Regions from separate parts of the Homo sapiens genome. Here regions 1, 2 and 3 are each linked to region 4. The links are contacts of gene promoters, found by promoter capture Hi-C in blood cells and fetal thymus (Javierre and others, 2016). All regions are on one chromosome and are shown on one strand. Each heading gives the region's core, a stretch centred on a gene start or on the middle of the fragment in contact. The rest is flanking DNA. Distances are from core to core; before and after follow the strand shown. Region 1 overlaps SLU7 (spliceosome associated SLU7). Region 2 holds the start of FBXO38 (F-box protein 38). Region 3 has its middle 8.6 kb from the start of PTTG1. Region 4 holds the start of FAM114A2 (family with sequence similarity 114 member A2).

Evidence for each region. Contacts are between HindIII fragments. The CHiCAGO score rates a contact against its expected background, and 5 or more counts as called.
Region 1: a fragment that was not itself captured here is called in contact with the fragment with the promoter of FAM114A2 in region 4 in 1 of 17 cell types (total CD8 T cells); the score reaches 5.6 in total CD8 T cells.
Region 2: a contact is called between the fragment with the promoter of FBXO38 here and the fragment with the promoter of FAM114A2 in region 4, in 1 of 17 cell types (naive CD8 T cells). The highest score is 5.7, in naive CD8 T cells.
Region 3: a fragment that was not itself captured here is called in contact with the fragment with the promoter of FAM114A2 in region 4 in 1 of 17 cell types (non-activated CD4 T cells); the score reaches 5.1 in non-activated CD4 T cells.

The regions. Positions count from the first base shown.
Region 1 is chr5:160,407,680-160,410,538 of GRCh38, forward strand. It overlaps SLU7 (spliceosome associated SLU7), which reads right to left. Exons shown (of 16, transcript NM_006425.5): 7 at 971-1,018; 8 at 650-781; 9 at 292-389; 10 at 67-134. Among named protein-coding and RNA genes, the nearest start is that of FAM200C, 9.1 kb to the left of the region's middle. The HindIII fragment of the contact is 3,120 bases long and covers 1-2,859 here.
Region 2 is chr5:148,382,168-148,385,449 of GRCh38, forward strand. It overlaps FBXO38 (F-box protein 38), which reads left to right and starts at 1,791. Exons shown (of 22, transcript NM_205836.3): 1 at 1,791-1,872. It overlaps FBXO38-DT (FBXO38 divergent transcript), which reads right to left and starts at 1,683. Exons shown (of 5, transcript NR_105057.1): 1 at 1,332-1,683. RefSeq lists an enhancer at 1,568-1,767. The HindIII fragment of the contact is 17,680 bases long and covers 1-3,282 here.
Region 3 is chr5:160,428,882-160,432,018 of GRCh38, forward strand. No RefSeq gene overlaps it. Among named protein-coding and RNA genes, the nearest start is that of PTTG1, 8.6 kb to the left of the region's middle. The HindIII fragment of the contact is 153 bases long and covers 1,404-1,556 here.
Region 4 is chr5:154,037,465-154,040,309 of GRCh38, forward strand. FAM114A2 (family with sequence similarity 114 member A2) reads right to left here and starts at 1,446. Exons shown (of 14, transcript NM_018691.4): 1 at 1,393-1,446. MFAP3 (microfibril associated protein 3) reads left to right here and starts at 1,503. Exons shown (of 3, transcript NM_005927.5): 1 at 1,503-1,547. The HindIII fragment of the contact is 2,878 bases long and covers 1-2,503 here.

The DNA.
Region 1 (2,859 bases), core at 310-2,809, 6.4 Mb after region 4:
GCTTTAAACAATCCCAAACGTCTTATGAGCTGATATAAAATGGCTTGACATAGAGGAAACACTTACACTGTGTCTGAGCCATTGAAATGGTATCTCCTGTGTACCTAACAAAGTTATCTCCAGCATAACTCACTCTGTAAATACAAATAAAGAAAATGTTTCAGAGATTGATTTAAGGAAAATTAATTCGTAAAACTGAATCTGAATTAAAATGAACACCATCTATGGTCAGGTCAGAAAACAATTAACTTTCTCTCATCTTAAAATCTGTACATTTAACTTGATACTTACTCATCTGGATTCTTTCCTGCATTGGCATAAGGATTCTCTCTCATTGCTCTAGTTTTTGGATCATAGTAGGCAGAATTTGGATCTAAATTCCTCAAATACTAGAAGAAAAAAATATTTAAAGAATTAATGTTTACTCACAGCAAAAAGATTTCAGCAGACTAGTTGGAGGAGTTGAACATGATCAATTAAATAAATGTGTGTATACATTTCTGGGGTTCAGGTGAAGAGAAAAAACAGAATGAAACCTTATCTTAGAATGACTCTGACTATATTATCCATATGCTACCCAGAGTCGATAAAATTTATGCTGGGAAGACAAGTATTTTTCAAATATGTATGTTAAGCTGACAAGACTTACTTTTGCAATATCTTCTCGAATCCTGAGATTCCGGACAGTAATTCGTCTCTTGGAGTCAAAATTCTGTCCAGGCATGTCAATATCATCTGCATATTTATCTTCATCCTCATCTTCACTATTATGATCTTTTTCCTAAAAGAGGGAGAGGAAGGAAAAGTAAGAAGAAAAGAAAGCAGCATGTAGTTCTTTTTTTTCCCCTTTCCCTTTAACCAAACCCTTATTTACTTGTGTTCTTTAAAAGCTATTATTAGTGTTATTTATTATTAGCCATCAGAAATTTAAAAATTTAACATATACTCAGAGACAGCAAATATGTATTACCATCTGAGAATTTGGTTCCTCTTCTCCCCACTGGTGTTTTGGAGAATTCTGCATCATGAAAGAAGAAAAATCATTCATAATCTCATTCCACTTAATCCAATTAACTTTATTATTAAGATAATAAAGTATTATTATCTTATTATAAATAATATATTTATATAATAAAATATATTTTATTATATATTATATTTATATTATATATAATAAATATTTATTATATAATATATAATATGTAACTTATAAATAAGTATTAAGATAATAAAACTTAATTCTAACTGAACAAACTCTCACACTTCTCAGTTATAATGAGCGCAAAAATTCTGAATACAAGAGTGCCATTGTAAATAATTTTATTACACTGTCTATAAAGCCAGCAAATTTCAAGAGAATTTTAATTAAGATTATAACCACAAAATGGTAACAGAAAGATTAAGATGTCCAAAGTACCCAATAAATATTAATTTCTAAATGTGTTAGTCTTCAGACATACTGTATTCATTAAACGTTACTAGTTTCCTAGTAAGTCCAAAAAGAAAATATTACTGGGTTCATGTCTTCACAGCCAAAGTGAAGTTTGGGCAATGAAAAAAATCTACAAGTGACACAGTATTGTAATTTAAGGAGAGGCCAAACTCCTTGTCACAAGGATACACTTTTCTTCGCTAGCAATTGGTCAGAATACTTTCTAACTCCACAGAATGCCTACACTAACGTGGTATTTCATCATGTCCCTTCATAAAGGCTTCAAAGATTAAAAATACTTAAAAAAAAAGAGAATACATTATAGCATTAGTGAGGAGATGCAGAAACACGTGTATGTATATATACTATATAGATGGAAGCATAAATCTGCATGGCTTTTCTGAATGATGGCTAAGTGATATGTCATAAAAATTTTAGAAATACAAACTCACTGAAATACACTTCTAGAAGGTTATCCTAGTATCATGTCAATTATATAAAGATGTATAAGAATGTGATGTGCAGTGTTGTATATGTGCAATGTTTTTTCAAAACACTGGGAAAAAATCAAATTAATAGATCACTGGTTATATAATGTATTGCACTCCATGGAACACTGAACGGCCATTAAAAGTGATTCTATCCAAGGGGCAGAAAAGTATGTATCGTTTCCTAACTTTTTTGATTAAAAAAAGGGGAGGGGAGAGACAGATAGGATAAGGGTATATATTTGTATTTGTATTTATTCAAGACAGTCTGAAAGGAGCCACACACATACACAAAAGAGTTGGGGCGAGGGGAAGTTTAGTGTTAGGGTGGATAGAAACAGGGGTGGAGAGACTTCGCTGTGCATCTTCTTAAATTGTTTTAATTTTTGAGCCATGTGAATTCATACAAAAATAAATGATGCTATAGGTCTATAAATATAGACAGAAAACACGTTCCCACTGTACTCTATGTTGTTAAATTAAAAAAGAAGGTAATAAATGAATATATAAAGATGGATTCATGTAAGAAACATTTTGTATTCTAGCACACATGAACAGGTATATGTGGACAAGAGAGACCTGGAAAGGCCTACTTCAAAATGTTCACAATTAACACAGGGATATTTTCTTTTTTATATTATGTTCTAATTTTTTTCCACTTAATATGTGTTACTTTCAAAATTAGAAATATAAATATTTTGTAAAAAATAATTTTTTTGAGTTCCCACTATTTGCTAGTTCACCAAAGACATTTACATACATTTCTATAGTGACAGCTAAGTCTCTAAATCTACTGTATGTGGTTCATCTTAATATCCAAGCATCCTGGGAGCGGGGAGAGATAGCATTAGGAGATATACCTAATGCTAAATGACGAGTTCATGGGTGCAGCACACCAACATGGCACATGTATACATACGTAACAAACCTGCACGTTGT
Region 2 (3,282 bases), core at 541-3,040, 5.7 Mb before region 4:
TTTCAAGGAAGAACACGGGCTGATACTAGAACTCATGGAAGAATGAAAAGAGATACTTTAGAATTTAATTAAAAAGTGGGGATTGAAAATTAAAACAACACAGCGGTTTAAGGTCATTTACTGTAGGGCAAACTTTCCTGCAGCGCTCAGGGACCCCATGATGGTGCCACTGTACAGGAGAAATACTAACTCAGGACCTTTTTAATGAAAACCTGTAACATCAAGGTACAAATAAATCCTAGAGATGAAGGGATACATATAACATGCTCTACCTGAAAATGTTAAAACTAGTTTTGATATCTTATTATATATAACACTCATAGCAGTGAGAAAATATCTTTAACATTTATTACAATGATTTGTGGTAGGAAATTTTCTAAACTTGAGGTAGGAAACCTTTCTTACTCATGAGTATTCATTTCAGGTCCCACTACAGTGCTTTTTACAAAAGGAGGAATGCTAATAAAATGAAAATCATATTCCATTGAATTAAAAATTCAGGCCAATTGTGCTGAAATAAATCTTACTGAATGCCTTCTAAATATGCCATGCCCTGCACTAGAAACTTTCGTAATTCCTATTTATTCTTCAGAATAACCTGGGAAACAGAAAAAGCTAAAGTCTGTTTCCTTTATTAAAGTTTGAATATGAAGAAACCGACAGAAGCAAATAGCATAAAAATTCATTTTTGTCTTCAATTACAGGAAGAATGTAACATGAAAGCTGAGATTACAATGAATAGTACATGAATATGATGAGGTTTTGTTTTGTTTGTCCTACCAGAGCTCCAAATAAAAACACAGATATATGGTTTGACATACGGAATGGGATAGCTAAAACTGTGACTGCCTAAGACAAGCTGAAACCTAAGGTGCCGAACCATATTGGGGAAAGAGGGGAAAAACCAGTAGGTCTGCTATCAATCAAGAAAAGAATAAGAAGAAATGGGATTCCCAAGCCTTCTTCAGCTTTTTCTTCTCCAGCAGAATAGCCTAGTCAATGCTACGTCTTGTCAAATTGTGTCTCACATGGCTTTAATGCACACTAACTTTCCTAAGAAGTATTTGTATCTATTTAAATCTAGGGATTTTAGCCCATATTAATTACATGTATATTAGGGCAAGAACACAGGATGTAAAAGGTAAAAATCTGAATTTCAGTCCATCTGCGAGACATTGTGAAAATCAATTACACTCTCTGAAGACAATTCCTTATCCATTAAACAACAGAAAAGGTGATTAAGTTGATCCTTGCCTACATGTCAGAGTCGTGTAGAGTTTTTAATGACACTCATGTGAAATTCCTTTGGACTGTAAAATACTATTACTTACGTGCAAAGATAATGTCCCGAAATCACAGAAGGGATGACTTAACATTAACATCTTTAACTGCGCCCCCGTCCTTCCTCTCAAAAAAAAAAAGTTCTCTATTTTTAGTTGAATGATTCTGGGAAAATCTCTATTGGAACCTATCGACTTCGCAAATGACAAAGGCGAGGTCCAGAGACTTATCCAAGACCCCAGAGTACCAGTGGAAATCAAGACCAAACCACACGGTGGAGACTGGTTCCGACGTATCAGACTCAGTGCTTCCGGCATGGCGCTTTAGTGTCAGGTGAAAGAACAGCAACCCGCCCCGCTTCTCCACCCCTGACAAGCCTTCCGAAATGCCACGCTGAACATGGCTGCCGCGCTTCGATGCTTCTTCACACACACAATATGGACACGGGTTTGAGGCTCCAGCCCCGGATGACAACACTCCGGAAATATGCGAGCGGCGGCGGAAGCGGAAGTGCCTCAGCGGTAGGGGCCGGGGAAGTGTCTGTAGCGTCCCTCCCTCTCAACCACAATAACAGGCGGAGGGTCGGCGTAGGTGAGGCGGCGGCTGAGTGGGCCTGGGGACCGGGAGCGGGGTGGCAAAGCCCGGAGTGCGTGCGGCAGGGCTGAGGTAGCTGGGTGGGGATTCTGGAACTTCCGACCGCTTAAGCTCGGCCTCTGGCCCCCTTGGGGCCTAGAGCTCCTTGAGAGATCAGGGGTTGAATTTGTAGTTCCTGGCCTTCTAGGCCGTGCTTGCGGGGGTTGCCTGCTTGTCTGAACCTGGCCCCAAAATCCAGCATAAAGAACTCTCTCTGGGCCCCAGTTTCCTCAATGAAATGGGTGAGGGTGTTGGACTGGACAGCTTCTGTGACTGTCTCCCACCCCGGGCGTCACGAATTTCATGATTTTAATGTTAAGTCGGTGTTTCGGCCAGTAAAGTGAAGGAGGTCTGTGTTCAGCGTAGTGAGGAGATGTCCCTGAGCAGGAAGCAGTGAACACATCTTTGGCTGCCACGCCTGAGTATCAGGAGCCCTGAATTCTAGTTTCACCCCTTCCACCTACACACCGTGTGACCTTGTCTAGGTCCATTAGCTTTTCTGTGCTGCAGTTTGCTTATCTGTGTTGGATGCCTTTGATGTCCGTGCCCTAGCTGTGGAAATCAGATTCTTAACTCCCTTTTCATGGAGTCTTTACAGACCTGAAAAGCATATTCTCCCTGCACTCTGCACACCCAGAATTTGACTAAGAGATGTCTACCGTGTTTCTTTGCAGACACCAAGCTGGCCAAGGGCAACTGGTCACTTAGGAAGGTTCCTGTGCAATGAGAAGCTCTGTCCAGAAAACTTTGTTTTATACACCTAAACCAGCAGTGTAAATCACTACAAAGTGAAAAACAGGAGACCTTGATTTTTGTTCCAAAGTTGCTATTAACTTGATGGTTTACTTTGGCCAAATCCCTTCCTCTCTCTGAACTTGAGATTTTTTTATCTGCTAAAGGAAGACGTTGGATTAGGTCACTGGTTTTTAATCCCCTTTCCCATTCCCCCAGCACAAGTGAAGGATAAAATAATAGTTCTATAAAGCCATGATTTTCCCAGGGAAGGAGGAGGTCCAGTCTGGAGGGTATGTATTACATAGGCATAGACTGAAAAAAATCCGCTTGTAATTTTTAACTTTCATTTTGAGAATTAACATTTTAGATTATCTGTAAGCCTTCTTTCCCCTCTTTAAAATATGTGATGCTGTAATTCTGATGTCCTCCTTGGGTAAAGAATGTAGAGTTTTGTGTGCCTCTTTGTTTAAATGGCTGTGTGCCCAGAGGTACACACTTTATATTTAGTCAAACAGATACTAATGCATAGCAGAGGAGAAAAAGGGACAACTAGATTCCAGTAAGATAGGGTGATATAGTGAAGTAAAATTGGTGGTATACTAAAATGAAATAAGGTGGTATAGTGAAATAAAA
Region 3 (3,137 bases), core at 230-2,729, 6.4 Mb after region 4:
GCTTATTTTAGAAGCTGCCACTGTTTTTTCCTGAAAAGTATACCCCTCAATGTGTACTTTATTGACTTTTTGTGGCCATTAACTAGTGACAGTTATTAGATCTCTTAATTAGAAGAGCTACTTCCAACTCATTAAGTATCTATTGCTGGGCATTCTTTATTGCCGGTTCTACTTAGTTTCTAATGACTTTAATACTCAGTATTGAAAGGCTCTAAATCTGAGAATTCAGCCTCCTTGGGATCTTCAATTAGATTCCTTAAAGATCACTGGAGATAATTTACTGATAGTAAGGTCTACACTCCACCTATAGGAAACTGTATTTAGTTGTTTACCTTGTGTTGGACATGAGTATTTGAGAAGCATTATTATGTTTAATGTTTGACACTTTCCCAGGTAAGACAATGAAGCGCAGAAGTTCATTGATTTGTCAAAGATGTGAAGAGCTAGAAAATTATTAGAGCTGGTATTTTGATCTCAGTTCTGAGGTTGGAATCAAAATAGAGATGGCAAATGGTTGCTCATAGGTTTTCTTTTTGAGGGAGGGGGTGGATATTTTAAAAACCTTAATCATTTCCACTATTTAAAATTCCAGTGTTTCACCAATCTGGCTTTGGAGATTCTCTTGAAAAGAGATGTGTCCATAGTAGACCCTGTTTCCAACACTTGCTGGGGCTGGAGGTAGATTGCAGGCTGCTGCCTTTTAGGTGGAGTATAGGCTTTCTATCCCACAGACCCTGCCTTAAATGGCCTCAGTGAGAACTGAAGTGATCCTTTTACCTTTCATGTCTCTTCTGAGACCTAGCCTACTTAACTCACTTTACTCGCTTGGGCCATGTAGTAACCTGAATTTGACCCTTGCTTGATGCTAAGTTATATAAGAAGTCTTTCCCTTGATATATCAGTAGCTTCTATGGTCAAGTTAGAATGTGAACACTTTGCCATTGTCATTGGAGGAAGCTGAAGGATATTAGGCATGAAATACTAAGAACACCTACAACCGCTTATCCTGACTTTAAAACTTTTTACCTTCTAAATACAACTGAATCAGTGTGACTTTCTGGAATTAGTGGAAAGGCAGACTTCTAGGAGAAGATAATACCATAAGACTACTAGGGCACTTGGCTTTAGGGGAGAGTAATAGGTTTAGCATCCTCAGGTAAAATAGGGCTGCTAAGAAAACCAAAGTATAGGTTGGACACAGTGGCTCACACCAGTAATCCCAGCACTTGAGAGTTTGAGGTGGGAGGACTGCTTGATCCCAGGAGCTTGGGTTCAACCTGGGCCATGTAGTGAGACCCTTGTCTCTCAAAAATTAAAAATAATTAGCCGGGTGTGGTGGCGCATGCCTGTAGTCCTAGTTTCAGGAGGTTGAGGCAGGAGGATTGCTTGAGCCCAGGAGTTCAAGCTTACAACTTGAGTGGCTATAGTCATGCCACTGGGTGGTAAAGTGGGTGGTAGAGTAGCCTGGGTGGTAGAGTGAGATGCTGTCTCACAAAAACAACAAAAAAAGCAAAGTGTAGTTCTGAATGGCTTTCATACTCTGCAACACAAACTGAAGCTTTGGAAAATTGTCTTTTGTGGTAGAGGGAACCAAGGGCTGGGAGCAAGGGGACTAGTCAGTCCCTTACCAGTTAATTGCCGTCCTCTGGGTCAGAACTGAGTATAGAGGGATCTGATCTTTTCATCTGCTGTTAATCAGATTGCAATGTGCATAATGTGTGCTGAGACTGAGAACTTTAAGCAGATGCTCCTCCATTAATACAGATAATTTGCATCTTGTGGGGGTTGTTGCTATTTTGTTCTGACACTTTTTGAAATAAGACAGACTTTATTCATACCTTTACAACTCTGTAAACCTTCTGCATTTCTCTACACTACCTCTGAGCCTGCCTCTCAGGATACTGTACCTTCTTATAGTAGGAGCTAACAGTCAGGAATGCCATTATCTTGCTACCATTTCTTCTTTCTTATTACAAGTTGTATTTTTCTACTTTCCATGCCAGCCATGGATTTTACCTTTTTTCATGCTGGGTATTTTTACATTTCTATTAATATTCTTAAACTTTGTTCTAGAGTATGGGTAAGGTACCTAGAAGCAATTTGATTCATTTGAGACTTGCCTTTAATGTTAGGCATCACCAGAGCAGCATTTAGCCCAGGGCTCATTTCCCCCTACTACTGAAGTGTGAGATGCTTAGGACTCTGCTGCCCCCTGAATTATGAGGTTTTCCTGTCTAGCTGGTGGGAGCAGACACTATTCCCAGCCCTGTGTGGGCTTCAGGAATTCTTCCCTCTGATCTTTTCAGCTATATGGATCAGTGCTCTTCTGAATACTACAGGGAGACCCTCTGCAAATTTCCAGGGTTCTCTCTGTGCAGCTCTCTCCTCTCCAGTGCTCTGCTCTGCAAACTTGGCCTGCCTTGGCCTGACTCTGCTCTGTCTCTTCAACTCAGGAAATTCACTGGGCTCTGCCTGCCTCCCTTTCTTCCCCACTCTGAGGCCTGGAAACTCAAAAGTAGCCAGTAAGGATAGTCATCGGCCTCACCTCACTTATTTCACATTCCTCAGGCATCGCTGTTCTCTGTCGCCTGATGTTCACTCTTTGGGCAGCCCTCATTTCATATATTTTGTCTTGTTTTTTAGTTTCAGGCAGGAGAGTAAATCTGGTCCCTGTTACTCCATCTTGATTGGAATTGAAAGTTCCTTCTAGATATTCCTTTCATTTTTTTTCTTTTTTGAGACGGAGTCTTGCTCTGTCGCCCAGGCTGGAGTGCAGTGGTGCAATCTTGGCTCACTGCAAACTCCACCTCCCGGGTTCATGCCATTCTCCTGCCTCAGCCTCCCGAGTAGCTGGGACTACAGGCGCCCACCACCACGCCCAGCTAATTTTTTTTTTTTTTGTATTTTTAGTAGAGACAGGGTTTCACCGTGTTCGCCAGGATGGTCTCGATCTCCTGACCTCGTGATCTGCCGGCCTTGGCCTCCCAAAGTGCTTGGATTACAGGCGTGAGCCACCATGCCCGGCCTTTTTTTTTTTTTTGAGGTAACATTCACATAAGAAAATTCATTTAAAAATGTACAATTCAGTGGCTTTTAGTTCAGAGTATATGCAACTATCACCACTGTCTAATTTCAGA
Region 4 (2,845 bases), core at 196-2,695:
TAGAGAACTAATGTAAGCCATTCACTCCAAGGGCCTATCTAATAGGAAAGACGAGACAGTTTTTGCACAAAGTTCAATTAATGTTTTGTGTATATGAATAAATGTTTCCTATCTTTTCCTTATGCTCTCTCCAGGTTGCAACGCATCATTATCATCATCATAAATATATACAGTATACTATATGTAGAATATATAATATACATATTACATAAATTCATATAATTCCATGAAAGACTGGAAGGACATACTCCAAAATATATTTTTAAAGACAGGGTCTCGCTATGTTGGCCAGGTTGGTCTTGAACCCTAGGCCTGGCCTCAAGCAATCTTCCCCTGCCTCAGCCTCCCAAAGTGCTAAAATTACAGGCGTGAGCCACCATGCCCTGCCAAAACAGTCCCTTTACTAAAATATTAAACACTGGTTATCTCTATTCTTTCATTTGTGCCAGATATTTGAGCTAAGCCAGAAGAGAATTTTTTATGGTGATGGTTGTTTATATTATCATTACTATCGTTATTAGAATGACTGTACCATCTCTTTCCTCAACTCATTCATAATCTAGGAGAAAGGTTAAAAAAAAAAAAGGAATAAACACCAAGTACGTGGAACTGCACTATTTAGTGTTTTTGTAAGTCTTCCAGGCATTGTGTAGTAAGCGTGTAGAAATAATTGTAGTTTCTCCTCCAGTTATTTTCTCAGTTGGAGGAGAAAGATTCCAATAACTGTAAATAAATACGGCTGAGCCATATTTTTAAGAAATAAAAACGCATACGCTTACACACACACATATATATTACGTATATATACACTCCACCCGCCCCATTTACCAAAATGAAGAGCAGTACAGCTTAGTAGCTAAGAGCACGGGCTCTGGAGTTTACTTTCTTCCTGTCCTGCAGCGATTGTGGGGAAGTCAGGTCACCTGTCTGCCTCTCCGTTTCCTCATCTGTCAAATGGAGTTCTGGGTCCCTATAAAGATTCAGTGACGCGATATGTGAGGGGCTTGGAACAGTGACCGGCACGTAACCGCCCACAGGTTAACAGCTGCTATCACTTGGTGGGGTGATGGTTTGTATCCTATCGTTATTAATACGGCTGTCTCTAGATGAGCAAACATGCGCTCTCACTTCTTCCCACATTCAAGAATGGGGTCCCAAACGAGAGATTCGACGTAAACGTCCGCTCCCAACTAAGTTCTCAGGCGCTGACAACGACAAGAATTCCTCACACAAACGTAGCGCTTCAATCACTAAACCGCTTTCACAGCCCTCGACCCTGCCGCGAGATGTCCGCCGCCCACCGTCAGGTCACCGCCTCCCTAACGACTTCGGCTGCCCGGGCCCTGCCCCTGAACCTCGCACCCCTCCTGCCTCGTTCAGGAAGCTCCGCACCTATCCGGCCGCCACCCTCAGCACAGCCACGGCAGCCGACTCGGCGTTCCTACTGCCCCGGAAGTGCTCCTTCAGCGCAGAGGCGTGCCGGTGTGTCCGAGAAAACTTCCGAGTTAAGCCGCCGCTGAGGCCGGAAGGAGCTAGACGGCGGTCGGGTAGGTGACGGCTTGGTTGGGGTCGCTGCGAGGGGACTACTAGGAGCGCCGAGGCGTGAGTCGTAGCCTGTGGCTTGGGGTCGGGAGTGCAGGAGGCGAAAATGTTTGCCATTCTTTTGAAAGTCTGGCCTGGGTGTGGGAGTTCGGTCATCGAACACTTACTGAGAGCCAGATACCTGCCAGGCACTGCCCTGGGCTCCAGGGACACATCAGTCAACGAACGGAAGGGCCCTGCTCTCAAGCAGTGCGAAAAGCAGATTATAAACAAGTCAACAAACGGGATTATCTAAGGTGGTAGTAAGTGCTGTAAAGAAATTTAGACTGGATAATGTGATGGAACGAAGTGGGAGAGTAATAAGCCGTATGAAAATCTGGAATAGAGCATTCCAGGCAGAGAGAATAGCGCGTGCAAAGGCCATATAGTGGGAACAAACTTAGCAAAGTCAAGGAAAAGACAAAGGCCACTGGCTAGAGCAAAAGGAGCAAGGTGAGAATGGAGAGAGATGAGGCCAGGGACTTGAGCCCAAATCTTGTAAGGCTTATGAGCAAGGATAAAGAGTTTGATTTTTGTTTGGAATCCAGTGGAAAACCATTGAAGGTTTCTAAGCAGATGAATGACATGATCTGATTTATGACTCTAAGATTACTCCTGGGACCTCATCAGAAAGATGCAACTCTTCTGTTGCCCTCGAGCAGTGAAAATGCATGAAATCCAGACTGACAGAGCTAGTAAAATATTAAAATCAATCTTATTGTACAGATAAGAAAAACTGAATCCCAGAGAGGTGAAGGGACTTAGCCTTTAAGAACTCATGTTTTCCAACTCCATTTAATGCCCTCGGAATTATCATCTTAATTCCCAGATAAGAGTAATTGTCACTTCTAAAACTCTTCAGATATTTTCCTTTGCTTTTGACAGTGGTTCTCTAAATTTAGGTTCATCAATATCACCTGGAAGCTTGTTAAAATTCCAAAAAACAACAACAAAAAAACCCCTGCTTAAATATAAAATGGATCATTTCCTCTGATTTTCTGTTGTAATGGAAAATGCATAGAATTTGGGGCTAAAGTATGGAATCTTGGGAAGCCACTTATTTTTTAAATGCTGCTGATAATTATAGCAGCAGTTCTCAAACTTTTTGATCTTAGAATTTCTTTATACTTTTAAAATGTATTGAGAACTTCAAAGGGTTTTTGTTTATAATAGCTATCAATATTTACTATTTTAGAAAACAACTTTCAACAAAGGTTATTCATTTTAAAATAAACTCATTATATGTTAACATAGATAGCATTTC